Regions from separate parts of the Homo sapiens genome. Here region 2 is linked to region 1. The links are contacts of gene promoters, found by promoter capture Hi-C in human tissues and cell types (Jung and others, 2019). All regions are on one chromosome and are shown on one strand. The core of a region is centred on a gene start or on the middle of the fragment in contact, and the rest is flanking DNA. Distances in the headings are between cores, read along the strand shown. Region 1 holds the start of SGSM3 (small G protein signaling modulator 3). Region 2 overlaps MRTFA (myocardin related transcription factor A).

Region 1 (3,755 bases), core at 287-2,786:
TTTATCTGTAATGTGAGAATTTATATTACATAACAGATACTGGGGATATAGGATACCATGGATTTTAGTTAATACATTTCCTCATAGAAAATAAGGAAATAACAGTCTTGTTCCTGTCCTAACAATTCTGTTAGACTAATGATCTCCAGTGATTGGCGATTTGACCTGGTTTCTTCCTGGACTATTTGAATGGGTGGATTTGTTGGTGCATCTCTTGTCTTCTTTCCTTTTCCATTCTCCTTTATTTTTGTATTTACATACTTGTATGCAACTTTGTAATCTGATTTTCCCATGTAACATTTTAATTTGATGGGTGGTCTGCGTGTTCACTGGAAAACATATATATATTAAATGTACATTTATGTATATATATAAAATATACATTCATATATATTATATATAATATACATTCATATATATTATATATAATATACATTCATATATCTATCTTTTATATATATATATAGACAAGATCTTGCTCTGTCGCCCAAGCTGGAGTGCAGTGGCATGACCACAGTTCACTGCAGCCTTGATTTCCTGGGCTCAAGCGATCCTCTCACCTCAGCCTCTTGAGTAGCTGGGACTATGGCACACACAACCACACGTGGTTCATTTTTTGTTGTTTTTTGTAGAGACAGGGTCTCACTCTGTTAACCCAGGCTGTTGTATTTTCTTTAAGATTGGTTTAAATTCACACGGACTCCAGCATCAGAACTACCCAGATGTCAGGTTCTGGGCAGAACTTGGGGCAACTGATGAAATGTCTGCTCAGCTGAAGTCAGACACCTGGACACTTAATGCCCTCTTTCCCTGGCTGATGCTCAGTTTCATTTAAGAACCAGGAGAGCCTGATGTTTGTAAACACAGCTTTAGTGGAAGCACGAGGGTTAGGAGTCCCTAGAAAGGTGATATGAAGCCTAGGTGGATGTGAGGGTTGGTGAGATGGGAATTGCACAGCATAGAATCTGACACAGAAGGTACTCAGAAAATTTCGTTTTCCGGCCTGGCGCGGTGGCTCACGCCTGTAATCCCAGCACTTTGGGAGGCTGAAGCGGGCAGATCATCTGAGGTCAGGAGTTCGAGACCAGCCTGGCCAACATGGTGAAACCCCGTCTCTACTAAAAATACTGTACTAAAAATACAAAAAAATTAGCTGGGCGTGGTGGCGGGCGCCTGTAATCCCAGCTACTCGGGAGGCTGAGGCAGAGAACTGATTGAACCTGGGAGGTGGAGGTTGCAGTGAGCCGAGATCACGCCACTGCACTTCAGCCTGGGTGACAGAGCGAGACTCCATCTCAAAAAAAAAAAAAAAAAAAAATTAGCAAGTTATTTGCAGCGTCTATCTCCCACCACCCTGACTGCTGGTCCACACCATACTGTCCCAAGCTTCTCAGGCTGCGGTGCAGACGAAGAAATCATCGCTATGCATGCTGGCCTTGGGATGGGGGCGCAAAGCCCCTGGACGCGCCCCGCCTAGTGGGCGGGAACGACTACAGCCCCCAGCATGACCCGCGGCCGCCCATGCCACGCCCCGCCACGCGTGCGCTTAGGCGCCGCTGAGCGCTGACTGGGTGCGAGTGGGGAAGCTGCTAACCCGACCCGGATTGGCGCTGAGGTGGCCCGTGGGGCAGGTGAGTGCGGGGCGGGAGTCAGCGGAGACCCACCGGCGCCTACAAGTTCCCCTCAGGCGGGGGCTGCGGGGCGGCTGTGGTCGGACTGTCCGACCGAGGGTCGTATGGGCCGAAGGCGCCCACGAGAGAAGCACCGCCTCGGGCCGGAGAGCCGCCGGGCCGACCTTGCTCGCGTCGCCGTTGGAATGGGGGCCGGGGACGCGGCGGGGCGGGGAGGTCGGCTGCGTCCTCCGGTGCGGCCGCCCCTAGACGGCCGAGGCCACCTCAGGTGTTCGGGGCGCCAGCCGGAATCCACCGCGCTGGCAGCCGGGAGCGGTTTTACGAAAACCGCGCCTGAGGCGGGGGGCTTTCTAAAAAGAGCCTGGCTGGCTCTGGCACCGGGACAGCTGCAGACTCCTCCTCAGGTTTAACTTGCGGTTTTCCCTTTAAGATTCAGATCCAGGTGCAGAACCCGGGCTCGGATCCAGGCCCGAGACTCGGAACACCGGTGTGTTTGCATTTTAGCACGGGGGAAACTGAGGCATACGTTAGCCAGAATCATCCGGTGTGGTTAGGACTGGAATTTTGAAAATTATTCTCATACTTAGTTTACTGACCTAGGCTCTTTTTTATTTGGAAAGAAAAATAAAGATGTTTCAAAGGTTGTTTTCAGTGACTGGGTGACTAGTGTATCTTCCAGTCTCACGCTGCACGTTTGTGGTGGGTTGATGGCTCTTTTTTGTTTTGCGGTGGGATAGAGATGTCCTGGAATGTTCTACACCTTTCTTATTCTTTCTTAGTAAATTCAAGTCAAATCAGACTCTGATTCACAAAAACTCATTTTCAACTTCGACTCGTTTACTCGTAGTTTTTGTGACAGGTTTGTGATTAGGTTTATAGGTACATATGTTTCCCGCTTTTCTTGCTCTTTTAGTTCCAATTATCTCTGCACTCTAAACAGTTGAATTACATCTTTGTTTTTACACTATTTCTGTTCTTGGTGATTAATTTGTAATTCTTCTTTTCTTTTCTTTTCTATTTTTTTTTTAAGACGGGAGTTTCGCTCTTGCCCGGGCTGGAGTGCAATGACATGATCTCGGCTCACTGCAAGCTCCGCCTCCCGGATTCAAGTGATTCTCCTGCCTCAGCCTACCGAGTAGCTGGGATTACAGGCGCCCGCCACCACGCCCGGCTAATTTGTGTATTTTTAATAGAGACGGGGTTTTTCGCCATGTTGGCCAGGCTGGTCTCGAACTCCTGACCACAGGTGATCCGCCCGTCTCGGGCCTCCCAAAGTGCTGGGATTACAGGCGTGAGCCACTGCGCCAGGCCCGATTAATTTGTAATTCTATAGATATCTTTCCTGGCTTTTGATAATCCTAAGTGAATGTAGCTTTTTCATCCCTAATTATCATAGTAGCCTGAGCTTTAGTTCTTCTCCCTGTCCCCCCCCCCTTTTTTTTTTTTTTTTTTTTTTGAGACGGAGTCTCGCTCTGTTGCCCAGGCTGGAGTGCAGTGGCGCGATCTCGGCTCACTGCAAGCTCTGCCTCCCGGGTTCACGCCATTCTCCTGCCTCAGCCTCCCGAGTAGCTGGGACTATAGGTGCCCGCCACCACACCCGGATAATTTTTTGTATTTTTAGTAGAGACGGGGTTTCACCGTGTTAGCCAGATGGTCTCGATCTCCTGACCTCGTGATCTGCCCGCCTCGGCCTCCCAAAGTGCTGGGATTACAGGCGTGAGCCACCGTGCCTGGCCCTCCCTGTCCCTTTTTAAGCGTGGAGGTGTGTGGTCTGGGAGGGGAGAGGGTGAGGTGTCTATTGATCAGATATGGGTAATAGGTTAACATAACCCATGACCAGAACATTAAAAGGCTGTAAACAAACAATTGCTTCAATATAAAAACGCATACCTCGTGAATTTGGAAACATGTCAGGTTGATAGAAAAGTGAACTCGGGTAGAACCTCACAGAAATGAACCCGACATTAGGGTGAAATATTGAGAAGGGAAGGGAGGAGATAATCATCTCTTTTATTTTACAGCCATCTTTCTATGCCTGGAGTGGATGTAGGAACAGCCTGCTGGCTCAGAAGCTTAAAAAAAGCTCTGTGTGTTTTCAGTTTTTCTCTTCTTAGTTCTCAATGA
Region 2 (3,969 bases), core at 1,395-3,894, 160 kb after region 1:
ATTATGAGATTCTTTTTTTTTGCAATTTTTTAAAAGCTCATCAGCTATCGTTAGTGTTAATGTATTCCAAGACAATTCTTCTTCTTCCATTGTAGCCCTTGCCAAAAGATTTAGAGCATTAAGAGATCCAAAAAGTAGGTATTGCTAGTGCAATCTGGAGTTTTTCGTCAGTTCTACAGACCTGTGAGTGATGTGAACCCAAATGGGGCACCTTCCTTAAAGAATTAACATACTATCAAAAAGGGAAAAACTTATATGTCCACAATCTGCCCTATGATACTTCCTTTTAACCTCATTTTTATTAATTGCCACTCCCCTCTTGACCCATACTATTCTAAAACATACAGTGCAGAAACAAACTGTAATGATTAGGGAAATAGAAGTTAAAAAAATGCAGGAATTTTAAGTACACAGGTATCAAGGAAAAGAGAGACTAAATGGACTGAAGAAATATTTTATTTTTATTTTTTTGAGATGGAATCTTGCTGTGTCGCCCTGGCTGGAGTGCAGTGGTGCGATCTCGGCTCACCGCAACCTCCACCTCCTGGGTTCAAGAGATTCCCCTGCCTCAGCTTCCCAAGTAGCTGGAATTACAGGCACCCACCACCATGCCCGGCTAACTTTTGTATTTTTAGTAGAGATGGGGTTTCACCATGTTGGCAAGGCTGGTCTCGAACTCCTGACCTCAAGTGATTTGCCCACTTCAGCTTCCCAAAGTGCTGAAGAAATATTTTTAATAATAAAACAAATATTTTCAAATAGATAACATGTATGTGGTATAAAACCAAAAAGATTTTAAAGTACACAGTTTAAAAGCATTTTCTGAAGGATAAATCAAACAGAACACTTAGAAAACTTGAGTGTATAGGTTGTGCTGTATTTCTTAGGCTGGTTAGTAGGTGTGCATTAATCAAATCTTATAATACTTTATATATTCTTTGGCATTTATGGAGTACTCTAATAATCATAACAACAAAAAGTCTCTTCCACCCCAGTCCCCCAGTTCTCTATTCCCCTTTATTGAGGCAGCCAGGGTTACCAGCTTCTGTGGTCCTTCCAGAGACATCCTGTGCATGGACAAATGTGTGGGTGTGCATACATACATGCACAAGACAGAGAGAGAAAAAACAAAGTGACTCCCTAACTATGCCTCATTAAGATCAGATTTATGTCGTGGGACCAAAGCATACCTAAGGAACTGTCTCAACTGTTTTCTCTACAAGTGAATTCTGTCCTGCTGTTGTTATAACTAAGAGGACTGCACTAGATGGATACACCTTAGGGCCTGTCTAGTCAAAGCCTTACACATTAGCTGTCAAGAGCCAAGTCCTAGCATTTCTCCATTCTAAAACACACCAGAGTCAGTACCATGCCCCAATATTCCCTAAGACTTAGCTTCTGAAATTCCATAATGTCCATCTTATTTGTTTTGTTGTTTTTGTTTTTGTTTTGAGGCAGGGTCTCGCTCTGTCGCCCAGGCTGGAGTGCAGTGGCACAATCTCAGCTCACTGCAGCCTCTGCCTCCCAGGTTCAAGCAATTCTCCTGCCTCAGCCCCCCAAGTAGCTGGGACTACAGACATGCACCACCACACCTGGCTAATTTCTGTATTTTTAGTAGAGATGGGGTTTCACCATGTTGGCCAGGCTTGTCTTGAACTCCTGACCTCAAATGATCCACCTGCCTCGGCTTCCTAAAGTGCTGGGATTACAGGCGTGCGCCACCGCGCCCGGCCCCATAATGTCCATCTTAGATCATTAATTATCTAAACAAAATGATTCAGATATGTTTCCATAGTAGTGAGAAAAGCTCTAACTGTGGTTTGATTAGAACACTTAGATTCAGCAATAAACATCACAGGCAGACATGACATACTGCACATTCTGAGATGCAGAAGAATTCCAACTTTGAAAGCTATTTTTCAACAACATCTGCTTTGGACAAGGATTGGCTAAAATACAGGATGGTGGGTAGAAGATTCATTTCTTAATATAAGAACAGATCTCAAAATACTTCGATAAAATCTTGATTTAAAAGCTTATACTTATCAGGGAAAGTATGACAATCCAAATTTCATCACTCTCATTCATTCAAAAATACTAAGTACCATGTGCCAGTATCAGAAGCCAATATATAGATTAATATATTGCCCTTGAGAAGCTAATAATCTAATTAGGAAGACATATACATCTGGCTGGTTCCAAAGGACCAGTAAGAGACCACCAGCAGTGAGGAGGATGAAAGTTTTATTTTTTGAGACAGAATCTTGCTCTGTCGCCCCAGTTGGAGTAGAATGGCATGATCATAGCTTGTTGCAGCCTCGACCTCCTGGGCTCAATCGATCCTCCCACCTCAGCTTCCCAAGTAGCTCTGACTACAGGTGGGCACCATCATACCTGGCTTTTTTTTTTTTTTTTTTTTTTTAATTTTTTGTAGAGATGGGTCTTGAACTCTTGGGCTTAAGCGATCCTCCTGCCTCAGCCTCCTGAAGTGTTGGGATTACAGGTGTGAGCCACCATGCCAGGCCTGAAAGTTTGTATATAACATACATGAACATGTCTCACCAAAACCCCCAAGCTCCAAATATTCAAATGAAAATTGTTCATAAATATAAAACATACCCTGGAACTTTGCTATCATATTCAATATCCTGAAGTTTTATTTAGGGTAAAACTTTCCATCCTGAATTCTGTCAACAAGGTTTAGTTACTTTAAAACTCTCATTAAATAGCAGTCTCACCTATAAAGCATATATTCATATAGGTTAAAATATTCTATTGCTAGAAAACCTATGGCTCATGTTTATCTACTGATAAAGCCCAAAAGTCTTGACTTTTCAGAGAATGGCTTTTAGTTCACTGAGGCTTCATAACAGATGCTTTTTCATTTCCTATCATAAAGAGAGACAGTATTTTACTATACAGCTGTCATATTACTGTTACAATCCAGCTAATGGCTACAGCACTTCAGAACAAAACAGTAGCAATTTTACAAAACCAACACATTGTTAATGTTTTTGATCATATAGGAGACAGGTACTGGAGATATCAGTTTGCTATTACCCTTTCTATATCCAGAGTCTCTCCACTTTTACGAACATAAACAAAAGAAAGAAGTCCACATACACGCTACAGCAGACCCTTCATTCTACCTGCATCCAACACTCTTGTCAATTTCATTTCACCTACTATCATCCTTTGAAAGTTTTATGAAGTAGCTGGTCCAACAGATGGGTGGCTAGCCCTGCCCAACACATGACGAAGGAAAAACAGCTCTTAGCAAGCAAGACAAGAAAATATTAAGTATGTCCCTTTCCCTCTCAAGGCTGAGAACACTGAGACTACCTGAGAAGAAAGCAAACAATCTTTTAACCTTTATAAAGAAAAGTTACTGGACTGAGATGATCTGTAAGTAACAAGGTGATTTTAAAAAGGGAGAGAGTTCAAATGCTAAAATCTACCCCTCAAGATAAAACAGGCACTTGCCCACACATAGCAGAGAACTGGAATAGACAGGAAAAATAAATAAATCCAAATTAGTTTAACTGGGAGCTTTTTCATCAAAGACAGATGGGAAACATTCAGATAAGCACACTATCTTGTTTAGAACACAAAGCTCAATAGATCTGTAGGAGGAAAAGGAAAGGCAACCTGAAACACATAGCCTATATGCATAAAAAATGACTCATTATGGTCATATTAGTAAAACCAGAAAGAACAAAATGGTAGTGGTATCTGTCTTCTTTGCCCCTTCCCTGATCATAAGCTTTATTAACCAGATAGCATCTGATCCTGTCTTCAACTGATGTATATCTGTCTTTCAACATACTACCTAAAATGCTCCCCAAGGAAAACAGTGAGACCAATTCTGCCAGAGACAGTATCTGCCAGAACCAAGAAGTCTTATTTTCCTTTGAGTGAAAGCCAGTGGATGGGGAAGAGGTCCCCAAATGCCACTTGTCTGAATCTTTT

Evidence for each region. Contacts are between HindIII fragments. The study calls those that stand out against the background at their distance.
Region 2: a fragment that was not itself captured here is called in contact with the fragment with the promoter of SGSM3 in region 1 in 1 of the 25 tissues and cell types used here (dorsolateral prefrontal cortex).

Annotation. Positions count from the first base shown.
Region 1 is chr22:40,369,058-40,372,812 of GRCh38, forward strand. SGSM3 (small G protein signaling modulator 3) reads left to right here and starts at 1,537. Exons shown (of 22, transcript NM_015705.6): 1 at 1,537-1,631. It overlaps ADSL (adenylosuccinate lyase), which reads left to right. Exons shown (of 13, transcript NM_000026.4): 13 at 1-310. RefSeq lists an enhancer at 1,223-1,432 and silencers at 1,583-1,692, 1,753-1,922. The HindIII fragment of the contact is 4,461 bases long and covers 30-3,755 here.
Region 2 is chr22:40,528,864-40,532,832 of GRCh38, forward strand. The region is part of intron 3 of MRTFA (myocardin related transcription factor A); the gene reads right to left. Among named protein-coding and RNA genes, the nearest start is that of MRTFA-AS1, 9.0 kb to the left of the region's middle. The HindIII fragment of the contact is 3,323 bases long and covers 984-3,969 here.